2 separate regions of the Homo sapiens genome follow, and region 2 is linked to region 1. Evidence: promoter capture Hi-C in 16 types of primary human blood cells and fetal thymus (Javierre and others, 2016). All regions are on one chromosome and are shown on one strand. Each heading gives the region's core, a stretch centred on a gene start or on the middle of the fragment in contact. The rest is flanking DNA. Distances are from core to core; before and after follow the strand shown. Region 1 holds the start of PTPN14 (protein tyrosine phosphatase non-receptor type 14). Region 2 has its middle 58 kb from the start of KCTD3.

Region 1 (5,731 bases), core at 1,179-3,678:
CCTCAGCCAGGACTCAGCCACTATGAACAATACTACAACACCACTTCAGTCCAGTGAAGAGACACCCTTGAAAGGCAAACCACGTACAGAATGCTACTGCATTGTAAGAAACTTTTCTAGGCAGGATTTGCTGAATCCTGGGCCATTAGTCTACAAAAATGTGCAAGATAGTGTTTTCTATTTTCATAAAGTTTCAGAGAAAAGAACGACTTTAGCACAACTGTGCTAAAGCAATAGTAATGACTTAAAAGCAGAGAAAAGTATAACAAACTTAGTGACATACAGATGAACGAATTTTGCACCTCATGGCCACCCATTCAGACTGGGCAAAAAGGGCATCATGCCATTCAGCTCCCGCTCATTAAGGCTGTCATTTCTATGGCACAAGCTTCAACCTCATCACCAAACAATTAGCTAACTTTATAATACAAGGTCCGTAATGCTGCGGTATTACCACACCTACGGCTGTCAAACAGCCTTTTTAAAAAAGGAATCATTGCTTGAATGTGGGGGACAAAAAAGAAGAATCAATACCATTTTAATGAAACCGAGCATGGGCCAATTAAAATGTAGATGATCATACAACAGCTGCTTGTGGTAAAACAGCAGCAGGCATGGAGGTGTATCCAATTAGGGAGGCCTTGGCTCCTCGGTAAGCTACTTGTGGTTCCCATAAGTGGCTAACGTGCTTCTAGATTTATTTCTGATATTGGGGGTGGAGAGAATGCTATCCCAGCAACACTGCACCAACATGGCCATAAATGCCCCTCAGGCCCCCAGATGGCTAGGGAAACTTTCTGTCCTTCTTGTGTTCACTCTGCACGAGCTGTTTCCTCTGCCTGGAATACACCCTCCAGAGGAGCACAACCTCTATCCTCTAAGTGTAGTGCACCCTTCACCAGGACCAAGCTCGCCTCAGACTCTCACAGAACCCCTCTTCCATGTATTATCATTCTTCACCGGCCTTCAAGTTTCCTCCACTAGGCTGCAGACTCCTGCCCTGTGATCTCATTTAGCATCTTTCTATCCTGTTCCTAGCAGAGTAGAAGCTGGGTTTGTTGGATGAATGAGTAAACTAATCCATTTCAAGAAGTTAACACATTGGTGGAAACTCTGTAACTGCCCGCACCTGCAGTCTAGAGATTCCTCACCTTCACAAAGAACCTGCGACAGCCAGTCCCTAGACTTAAGCGGAAACCCCACAATTTCTGAAATTGTAGGTGGGGATGAGAAGGTTGGAGAACAAGAACCCAAGGAAGTGAGAGGGAAAGGGAGATAGGGGCAGCGTTACCTCACTGCTCTCTCCAAACGAAAAGGTGTAAACCCCATTTACAAGTATTCAAACCTGAGATCTGGGGGTCACGTGGGGAAGGAGAGGCTGTTAATACCTACAACTTTGGAAGTTTGAGGTGAAGACCTGATCTGAAATTGTTTGGCCACAGCTTTTTTTCTACGAGCCAGCTCGACCACCCAAGTAGGAGCCTCGACGCCCAGGAGTTCGGTGGCACCACTGGGGCCTAGTGAGAGGGCAGGAAAACTCCGCTCCCCTCAAGATTCCTTCCCGGTGGTGGTGGGGTGTGATTGGGAGCGTCGGGCAGCTGCATCCCCCTACCGCTGCAGCGACCGCGACGTCGTTCGTCTTTCATCCTCTAGCCCCCAAGGTCTAGGTATCTCTAGTTGCCCTTCCGAGGCCCTCTCTCGTTCCCAAAACGCAGAAGGGAATGGAGAGAGGGGACCAGGGTGTGGGTTTAACCACAAACTCCCCAGACTGCGCTCACCTTCCAGCTCGCTCCCGGGACCAGCTTTGCGCCTCACCGCGGGCAGCTCCCACCGCGAGATAACACCCCTGCGGCCCGGCCACCCCGCGCCCCAGGCTGCCCTGCCAGGCGTCCCGGGGCGCCAATCGCAAGTTGGCGTTGCCAGCGTCTGCCCAAGTCATCTGCAGGGCGCCCGGAGCGCCAAGGCGGCCTCCAACCTCGGGCCCAACTCCCGGCTTGGACGGGGCTTACCTGCTTACATGGCCCCCGTGGCGCCCCGGAGTCCCGCGCGGAAAGGCTGTCCTTCGCGGCGGCGGAGCCGATTCCCCACGGAATTGATTCCAGTGACTGGCGGAGGAGGGGCGAAGGGAAGGAGCCGCAGGAGGCGAAAGGGGAGGGAGGTTTCCGCCGCGATCCCGGCGCGAGAGTCCGAGCAGAGGCGCACCGGGGGAGAAAAGGAGAAAAACCTAAGCACGGGGCTGTCCCGCCCGAGGAGGCCGGGGAGGATGGCTCAGCTGGGAGGGGAAGGAGCGCCAGTGGCCACTTGATGTCTGTCTAGGGCTCCCCGAGGACCTGAGCCAGGAGAGCAGGCGGCTGAGCCCGGAGAAGCACAGCAACCTGCCCCCGAGTCTGCGCCCGCTGCGCTCACTCCGCCGAGAAAAAGTTGGAAAGAACTTTGAGGGGCCGGGAGAGCCAGAGCGGCAGGAAATGCGAGCGGCCGGGAGAGGAGGGAGGAAGGGGCCGTGCGAGTGGGAGGGGACGGAGCAGGCGCCGGCGGCCACGGCTCCCCCACCCCAGAGCCGGGCTCCGCGGCCCTGGGGGCCGGGAGGCGGAGGGAGCGCTGGGCGCGCGGCCGGGGGCGGGGAGGAATGCGGCCCGGGAGGGCGCGCGCCGGGGGCGCCGCGGGCGCGCGCTGAAACGTGGAGCCCCAGCTCCCGAGCTCCCGAGCTGGAGGCGCGCCGTCCTTGGGGACGTCACAGCGCTGGAATCCGAGGAATGCCGGGCTGCAGGAGCTCCTTCTGCAGGCCCGGAGAAGTCGCACACTTTTAATGGGGTAGTTTTGGAAAATGTTTTAAAAGGTGGGGGCCGAGGACGGAGGACCGGATGAAACTCCCTGGAGTAAGAGACGTGGAAGTGGAGAGAGCAAGGCGACCGCAGCCACCCCAACCCTGGGCTGCTCCCGCCGTTGGGGAGAAAGAGGCAAGGCAAGGAAGAGCCCACCTAGACTTCCGAGGACCGCAGAGACGGGGCGGCGGCAGGAACTTGCTCACCCCGACCTACATTCAGAATAGTCCACCTTATATTGGGGAACCCTCCAAGCAGGACGTTTCATGCAGCCACCCCACAGGGGAAAACAGACCAGGAGAAAGTAAGGTGGCCTCACCAAGTAGGCAATCTCAGAGATCTCTCCCTAGAATCTCTGGGTACTGGACCCGGTGTCTTAGCCTTCTCTCCCTGCCCCCTCCCGCCCCGTAGGAATGATAAAAAGCAGCCTGTGTGCTGAGAGTTGGAAAATGTCGTTTTCCCGGTTTGTTCCATGCCACAGAATCGCCCCACCCTGCCTGGGTAGGCACTGGGAGGGAACTTCCTTAGCACTTTCGGAGGTGGAGTTAATGAGACGCAGCTGGTATGATGGAAAAAGCTCGGAGCCAGGCGACTGAACCTGGGTTTTAGGCCCTGCCCGATTGGATAACTGAGGAGTATCCCAGCCCCTGAGATCCTAGGTTTCTGTAGCTGCAAAATTAAATAATTTGTCTAGATTTCTGTGGTCCTTTGCATTGCTACAAACATGTCTTGGGATTTATCTCGGTAAGATTCCAGTCCTTTGTTGAAAAGGGACCTTGAAGTCGTTGGCACACAATGTATTGTCCCAAATCACTTCAGTGTCCGGCAACTCATGCAAAAATTCCTGGCCTCTTGGGGAAGAGAATTGGAAACCAAAAAGCGCGGTGGCTCACACCTGTAATCCCAGCACTTTGGGAAGCCAAAGCTGGGGGATTGGCTGAGCTCAGAAGTTCGACACCAGCCCGGGCAACACGGTGAAACCCCGTCTCTACTAAAATTCAAAAAATGTTTCGGGGGTGGCGGCGTGCGCCTGTAGTCCCAGCTACTCTGGGGCTGAGGCAGGTTAATTGCTTGAACTTGGGAGGCGGAGGTTGCAGTGAGCCGAGATCGCGCCACTGCACTCCAGCCTGGGCTACACGGCCAGACTCCTCTCAAAAAAATAAAATAAAATAAAATAAAATAAAATAAATAAATCCGTAGTGACTCTGATTTTCTTCGAGCATCTGCCAATCTCTAGAACTGTAAATTAGAGAAAACGCCGAGTGCAATGCAAAAGTGATGGAAAGAAAAGGTTGAAGGGAAATCAACTTTCTCACATTTTAAAGGAAATAGCTGTACAGACGTGCTGGGTTTCCAAAGAAAACATTAGGCAGTGCCTGACTGTGTTCCAGAAAGTGTGGAAAGCACTCCCCCATTCCTAGATGAGGAAAGTGAGGCATGAAGAAATTACCTGTCTCACTGAGGGTCATACAACTAGGAAGATATGATCAGGGCCCTAGTCTGTCAGGCCTAAAGTGCATGCTCTTCATCTCTTTGAAATTGGACCCAAACAGGATTAGGATTAAAGATAAGAAAATGCCTTCAGGATCTCAATGTAAAACTCTGGCCTTTGCTCTTTCCTGGGAGATGGGAGACCTCTTGCTTGGTGTCTTTTCTAGTGAAAAGACACTAGGAAATATATTGTGTTGCTCTAACATCACTGTGCTACCAAACTGAGCACAGCACCCTGAGGCTGTTGTGGCATAAAAGAAGCAGCAAAGGACTTGTTGTCCTTCTTGGGCAGACACAAGGGTTCCGGTTCTGCCTCTGACCAGCCTTGGGACCCTGATCAAGGCACTTCACCTCTAGGCCTGAATTTATTTTCTAAGTAGAGTGTGGCAAAGAGGGCAGAGCTTGGTTGGAATAGTTCATCTCTGAGGTCTTTCCCAGGACTAAACTTCCATCAAAGTACTCTTCTCCAGATAGATGGCATGCCTGTGGAGGAAGCTAAGCAATAAAGCCAGTGGATAAAGCCAGTGTCTGGGGACAGGACTGTTTTCACACCGCCTTCAGATGAAAATGAATGTTGAGACTCCAATGAATGTGGCTGAGTGTTCAATGATAAGTAAAGCTAAGATTTAGCACTAACCCTGTGGACACATTTTAAAAATTTAGATAATTTTACTTACAGGAAGACAGTCTGGGCAACATGGCGAAACCCCAACTCTACACAAAATACAAAAATTAGTCAGGTATGGTAGCTCGAGGCTTGTAGTCCCAGCTACTAGAGAGGCTGAGGTGGGAGGATTGCATGAGCCTGAGAGACCGAGGCTGCAATGAGCTGAGATCACACCACTGCACTCCAGCCTGGGTGACAGAGTGAGATCCTCTCTTGAAAAAGAAAAAAAATATGCGTTATTAACTTAAAAGCCTATAGAGTGTATCTGACTAGCCATATTTCTTTTTCTTTAGAATAGATCACAGAAAGGCAATACAAATAAGAATATTTTCTAAGGCCGGGCGCGGTGGCTCACACCTATAATCCCAGCACTTTGGGAGGCCGAGGCGGGTGGATCACGAGGTCAGGAGATCGAGACCACAGTGAAACCCCTTCTCTACTAAAAATACAAAATTAGCCAGGCGTGGTGGTGGGCGCCTGCAGTCCCATCTACTTGGGAGGCTGAGGCAGGAGAATGGCGTGAACCCAGGAGGTGGAGCTTGCAGTGACCCGAGATCGCGCCATGGCACTCCAGCCTGGGCGACAGAGCAAGGCTTCGTCTCAAAAAAAAAAAAAAAGAATATTTTCTAAATAGAAAGTACAGCTTGAAGTGACAAAAACCTTTCATTCTCAGGATAAATATATAAAAGCTAGTTTCAAGCTTCTTTCAAAAAGAAAAAAGAAACCCATTTCCTAAATCTTTGTCACACTC
Region 2 (6,233 bases), core at 1,265-3,764, 960 kb after region 1:
AAAGTTTTATTTCAAAGAACAAACCATAATAGTCTCTCTGTGAGGATGACTTTCTACCTCTCCTACTAAATAACTTATTTAAGATTCAGTTAAAATGTTTTATCCTCTCCCAAACCTTCATTTATATTCCTGGGAATTTGATTATTTCTCCACTATGCCCCTATTAGTAGTATATATTTTTTACCTTTGTTTGTTAGCATTTTTATTATTATATTTTTATTTTTTGAATTTTATTTTAATTACTAGTTTACTTGTTGTGATGGTTTATTTTACATGTCAATTTGACGGAGAAACTTAGATAGTTGGTAAAACATTATTTCTGGATGCAACTATGAGAGTGTTTCTGGAAGAGATCACCTTCACCAATGTGATGGGTACCATCAAATCTCTTGACAGTCTGAATAAAACAAAAAGGCAGAGGAAGGGTGAATTTTCCTTCGTTTAAGGAAAATTCCATATCTGTCATTGGACATGGCATTCATGGTTCTTGGACCTTCAGACTCGGGCTATGACTTATGCCATTGATTCCACTGACTCTCAGGCCTTCTGACTCAGACTGAATTATGCCACTGGTTTTCCTGGTTCTCCAGCTTGCAGATGGCAGTTTGTGGAACTTCTCAGCCTCCATAATCACATGAGCCAATTCCTATTTGTGCATAATCGTAAGAGTTTTAGCTTCTAAAAAGTTGAAAACCCTTAGGTGTGGACGAAAAGATATTTGAGACAGAAGTCAAACAAATGGTCTATATAATGGAGTTCAGAATTTGAGCCTGAGATGAGCCCTTAAGATGACTGTATTTTTCTATTCAATCAGACAGTATTTATTGAACACCTATTTTCTGTACAGCTCTATGTCAGGCACTGTAAGGAATATAGAGATAAATGATATAGTCACTATAGGATAAGGCATAAAGGTACAGAACTATATGAAAGGAAAGCAATTGATTACCACAACAATAAAGAACAGATTGCTGCCAAATAAGGTTATAAGACACGGCATCTAAGTTAATGATAAACCAGAAAGATATTATTAAAAATGGACCTTTCAAGCACATGGACAGCATGAGCAAAGGCATGGAAGCAGAAAAGGATGGTGTTCATTCATTAATTCATTCATTTATTCACCAACAAGTTATAAGACAGATACAGTATGAGGTACTGTGGACACAGAGATGAACAAAGCACAGTCTCTGTAAAGGACTTCATCATCAATTGAGAAAATACAAGGAAACAAATAAATGTTACAAATTTTTAAAGACATGATGAAAAGAAGAATAGTAAGGGCAGTAGGTGGGAATATTTGATTAATTCTGAGACACACTTAAAGAGAAGTTTCAAAGAAGACCTTACAGGGAAAGTGTGCTGATCAGTGGGCAGTGGACTGTGGTAAAGAAAAGGAAATTATCCCTTATCACAGGAATAAGAAGAATGCGGTTTATTTTTCCAGAGAACATCTGCTAATTCTTAGTGGTTGAGATTATAAAACCACAAAAGAGTATCTGCTAATTCTTGATGGCTTGAGACTATAAAACCACACAAACATAGGGGTCTGACTTGGTAGAAATTAAAATAAGACTCCCTGTGTAAAGCTGGTGTGCTCAAAGGTATTCCAGACTCAGTGAAAGATTCAGGTAAAATGCATTCCAAAGAAGATGATTTACTGATCTCTAATTTGGCTCCGGGTGCACTGGGAGAAAAGGCAATCTTTCTGTAGCATCATAAGCCATTAGTTGGCGCTTATGTACCAAATTTTATTAGTGTGGACTAAAAAACTGCAAATCAAAAGTCTATTCTGTAGTAGATTCAGTTTGATAATCCTCCCAGGTTATTAGATCATTAAAATTCCAATATATAAAGATAGAACAAACAGATTACAATTTGGAAATTCACTAAACACCTGAGAAACAAGGCACCATGAGCAAGAATCTGCAGAAATTCAAAATGCAGGGTCAGACAAACAAATATCATAGTAGAATTATCAAATATAGAATATAAAGTAAATATATTTGATAAATTAAAGAAAGAAAAAAGATTTTGAATATGATTAAATTTAAAAGGATATTAAAATTAACCAAGCAAATATCAAAAAGAGTACTTCTATAAATAAATAATACTGTAATTGAAAATACTCAAAATTCAATGCATATGTTAAATAGAAGACTAAACAAAGCCAAAGAGAAAATTAATAAACTGGAAAATAAATCTGAAGATATTACCAAAAAATGCAGCATAGGGAGATAAAATAATACATGAAAAAGAGATTGAGGGAAATGAAGCCTAGAGGAAGAAAAGCCAATGTAAATCTAATCAGTGCTCTGAGCAGAAGAAAAGAATAAGGGAAAGGCAATATATGAAGAAGGAATGTCTGTGGTTATTGTCAGAATAAAAGCTTCAGCATTTAGATTTAGGCACCTGGATGAATTCAAGCAGAGTAAATAAAAAGAAACTTTTAAATAAGTTATCTGTATTAAAAATGCAGAAAATCAAAGACAGAGAAAATCTTAAAAGTAGTAGAAAGAAAAGATAAATTCTGAGGCCTGCCATGTACATTTGTGCAAGCTGTACGCTACCAGAGATGGTACTAGTCATTTATGGTCTATGTGAATGGTGTCCTTGGGAATTGAGCAATGCTATTTCTGAGAAGCTTTGTGCAGCATCCCAGTGGCTAAAAAAAAGTGATGAATAGCTTGACAGCTGACAGCTGACTTTCCATTGGCAGCAATGAAAGCCGGATATATATATAAAAAATAGTATATTCAAATGCTAAGATAAAGTAACTTTCAACGTAGAAATTTATATTCATAGAAACTGTGTTCCAATAACATTTCAAATGAAGACATTTTCAAAAAGTAAGTAAATAAAAACTGAGAAAAAGTACTGAAAAAAAAATGCTTCCAAAAGAATCTTCAAGGATAAAAGAGTGAAGGAAAATGATCCTAGAAGTAAGGTCAAACATTCCATGAATAATATGAGTAGAAAAAGAAAAGGAAAAAGAAGTGTTAAACTTATGTAAGCTTAACAAGTTGACTATATAAAACAGTTACCAAAATGTTTAATATGCAAGACAAAAATTATAGACAAGGAGAGTACAAATTTAGAGAAGTACATTTTGGTGTACAAAGATCTAAGGTCTTTTTATTAATTGAAAGGATGGTTAAAATATTAATTAACTTTAGAACTTGTTAACTACATTAGTAGGGTAAATACTACAAGAACAGAAATAGAAAAGTGTAACAACCAAATTAGTAAAACAAATTAAAATAAGGAAAAAAAGAATTTTAACATAGGGGAAGGGACTCTGAGATATAAAAATAACCAAAGTGTTTTTCCTACTATCACTCACCACTCAGCATAGCTGTCCTGACACAAGATATTGGAAGGGGGTTCACAACACACCAAGCAATTCCCTGGCAGACACCAGCTGGGTGCCTTCCAATCAATTCAATTCTGACACTGTCTACCTGGAGGTATCATCAGATCACATAGGGTAAGGCTGAGTTTCACAAGGCTGCTCCCTACTTCCAATCACAAGTCTCAGGTTGTGACTTGTACTTCTGACTGACCAGCTATAAATTGGAGTTCCCATAACTCTCTCCTCAGGTTTGATTAATTTGCTACAGTGGCTCACATAACTGAGGGAAACACTTTACTTTTATTTACCAGTTTATTAACAAAGACTATAACAAAGAATAGAGATGAACAACCAGATGAAGAGATACATAAGGCAAGGTCTGGAAGGGTCCCGAGTACAGGAGCTTGTGTCTTCATGGAGTTAGGACACACCACTCTTCCACCCCATGAATGTGTTTCCCAACCTGAATGCTCCCTAAACTTCAGAGTTTAGGGATTTATTGAAGGCTTCATCACATAGGCATGATTGATACTTAATTTTATTTCCAGGCCTCCCCCGTCTCCAGAGAATGGGGTTTGAGGCAGAAAGCTCCAAGCTTATAATCATGGCTGGATCTTTCCAGTGACCAGCCCGCATCCAGGAGCTCACCAAAGTCACCTCATTAGACCAAAAGATACTCCTATCACATATCACACAGAAAATTCCAGAAATTTAGGAGCTTGCATCAGATGTTCCTATTACTCATGCACACATGTTTATTGCAGCACTATTCACAATAGCAAAGACTTGGAACCAACACTAATGTCCAACAATGATAGACTGGATTAAGAAAATGTGGCACATACATGCCATGGAATACTAGGCAGCCATAAAAAAGGATGAGATCATGTCCTTGCAGGTACATGGATGAAGCTGGAAACCATCATTCTCAGCAAACTATCACAAGAACAGAAAACCAAACACTGCATGTTCTCACTCATAAGTGGGAGTTGTACAGGAGAACACATGGACACAGGGTGGGAAACATCACACACTGGGGCCTGTCAGGGGGTGGGGGGCTAGGAAAGGGATAGCATTAGGAGAAATACCTAATGTAGGTGACAGGTTGATGAGTGCAGCAAACCACCATGGCACGTGTATACCTATATAACAAAACTGCACGTCTGCACATGTACCCTAGAACTTAAAATATATATATAAAAAAAAGACAAGCAAAAAGATTCAACCTGCTCATAATTGGAGTTCCCAAGGAAGAGAAAACCCAAACAATAAAGCAAAAAATAAATTTCAAAAAAGTTCAAATAGTATTTCATAAATACCCCACTTAGAGAAGAGATATAAAAGAGTGGAGGCAGCCAGTAAACATATACATCACCCAAGGACCTCCACTAACAACAACAGCCTAAGCCACTGAGGAACTCACAGAGACCACTGATGCTGACTACAGCTGAATAAATTATACGAAGACTATACTACTGTGCCCACCCAGAAATCAAAGCAAAAATACTCTACCCAACCAACACTGTAGGTAGACCTATAGGAAAAAGTCTTCCTTTAAGGGAGCCAATCCATATAATTAAAAGAAATGATTGCTATACTAGATGTACAGATACCAACATAAGAATCCAAGAAATATGAGAAAGCAAAGAAACATAACACTTCCAAAAGAACACAATAATTCTGCAGCAACAGATACTAAAGAAAAGGAAATCCATAATCTTCCCTAAACAGAATTCAAAATAATGATATTAAAGAAATGCTATGAGACACAGAAGAACACAAATGAATAATACAAAGAAATCAGGAAAACAATTTATGATCTGAATTAGAAATTTAATGAAAAGATAGATATCATTTTTAAAAAATAAACAAAATCTTGGAACTGAATAATTCAATGAATGAAATAGTAAATACAATTGAGAGCTTCAACAGCAGACTAGGTTAAGCAGAAGAAAGAAAATTTGAACTTGAAAAAATATATTTTGAAATATCCCAGTCAGACAAGAAAAAAGAATAAAAAAAGAATGAGGAAAGCCTGTATGACATATGGGACATCAAAAATCAACCAAATATTCAAATTTGGGGACTTCCAGAAAGAGACGATCTGAGAAATGGAATAGAACACCTGTCTGAAAAACAATAGTTGAATGCTTCTCAAATGTCCCAAAAGATATAGCTGTCCAGGTATAGGAAGCTCAAAGATTCCCAAATAGATTAAACTCAAAAAGGTCTCCTCCAAGGAACATTATAGTCAAATAGTCAAAATTCAAAGACAAAGATAATTTTTAAAACAACAATATAAAAGCATCAAGTCACATATAAAAAAATTCTCATCAGACAAAAACTGGTTTCTCAACCGAAACCTTGCAAGCCAGGAGATAAGAAGATGACATATTCAAAGTGTAGAAAGAAGAAAAAAAGTCATAACAGGAATACTATATCCAGCAAAGCTATCCTTCAAAAATGAAAGAGAAATGAAATATTTCCCAGACAAGCAAAAACTGAGAGAATTAATTACCATGAGACTGGACCTACAAGAGTTGCTTAGGGGAGTTCTACACCTGGAAGCAAAAGGATAATATCTGCCATCATAAAAACACACAAAAGCATAAAAGTCACTGGTAGAAAAGATACTGAGAGAAAGAAGTCAAAGTTATCACTACCGAAAAACCCACCAAAGTATAAAGGTGAACAATAAAAGGAGAAAAGAAGCAAAGGATATACAAAGCAATCAGAAAAAAATTAACAAAATGGCAGGAGTAAGTCTTCACTTACAATAATAACCTTGAGTGTAAATGGTTTAAATTCTGCAATTAAAATATATATATACTAGCTGAATAGATTAAAAATACAAGACACAATATATACTGCCTTCAAGAAA

What was found. Contacts are between HindIII fragments. The CHiCAGO score rates a contact against its expected background, and 5 or more counts as called.
Region 2: a fragment that was not itself captured here is called in contact with the fragment with the promoter of PTPN14 in region 1 in 1 of 17 cell types (naive CD8 T cells); the score reaches 5.3 in naive CD8 T cells.

Annotation. Positions count from the first base shown.
Region 1 is chr1:214,549,174-214,554,904 of GRCh38, forward strand. PTPN14 (protein tyrosine phosphatase non-receptor type 14) reads right to left here and starts at 2,429. Exons shown (of 19, transcript NM_005401.5): 1 at 2,010-2,429. RefSeq lists enhancers at 1,092-1,913, 1,914-2,734, 2,735-3,555. The HindIII fragment of the contact is 5,292 bases long and covers 387-5,678 here.
Region 2 is chr1:215,505,873-215,512,105 of GRCh38, forward strand. No RefSeq gene overlaps it. Among named protein-coding and RNA genes, the nearest start is that of KCTD3, 58 kb to the right of the region's middle. The HindIII fragment of the contact is 255 bases long and covers 2,388-2,642 here.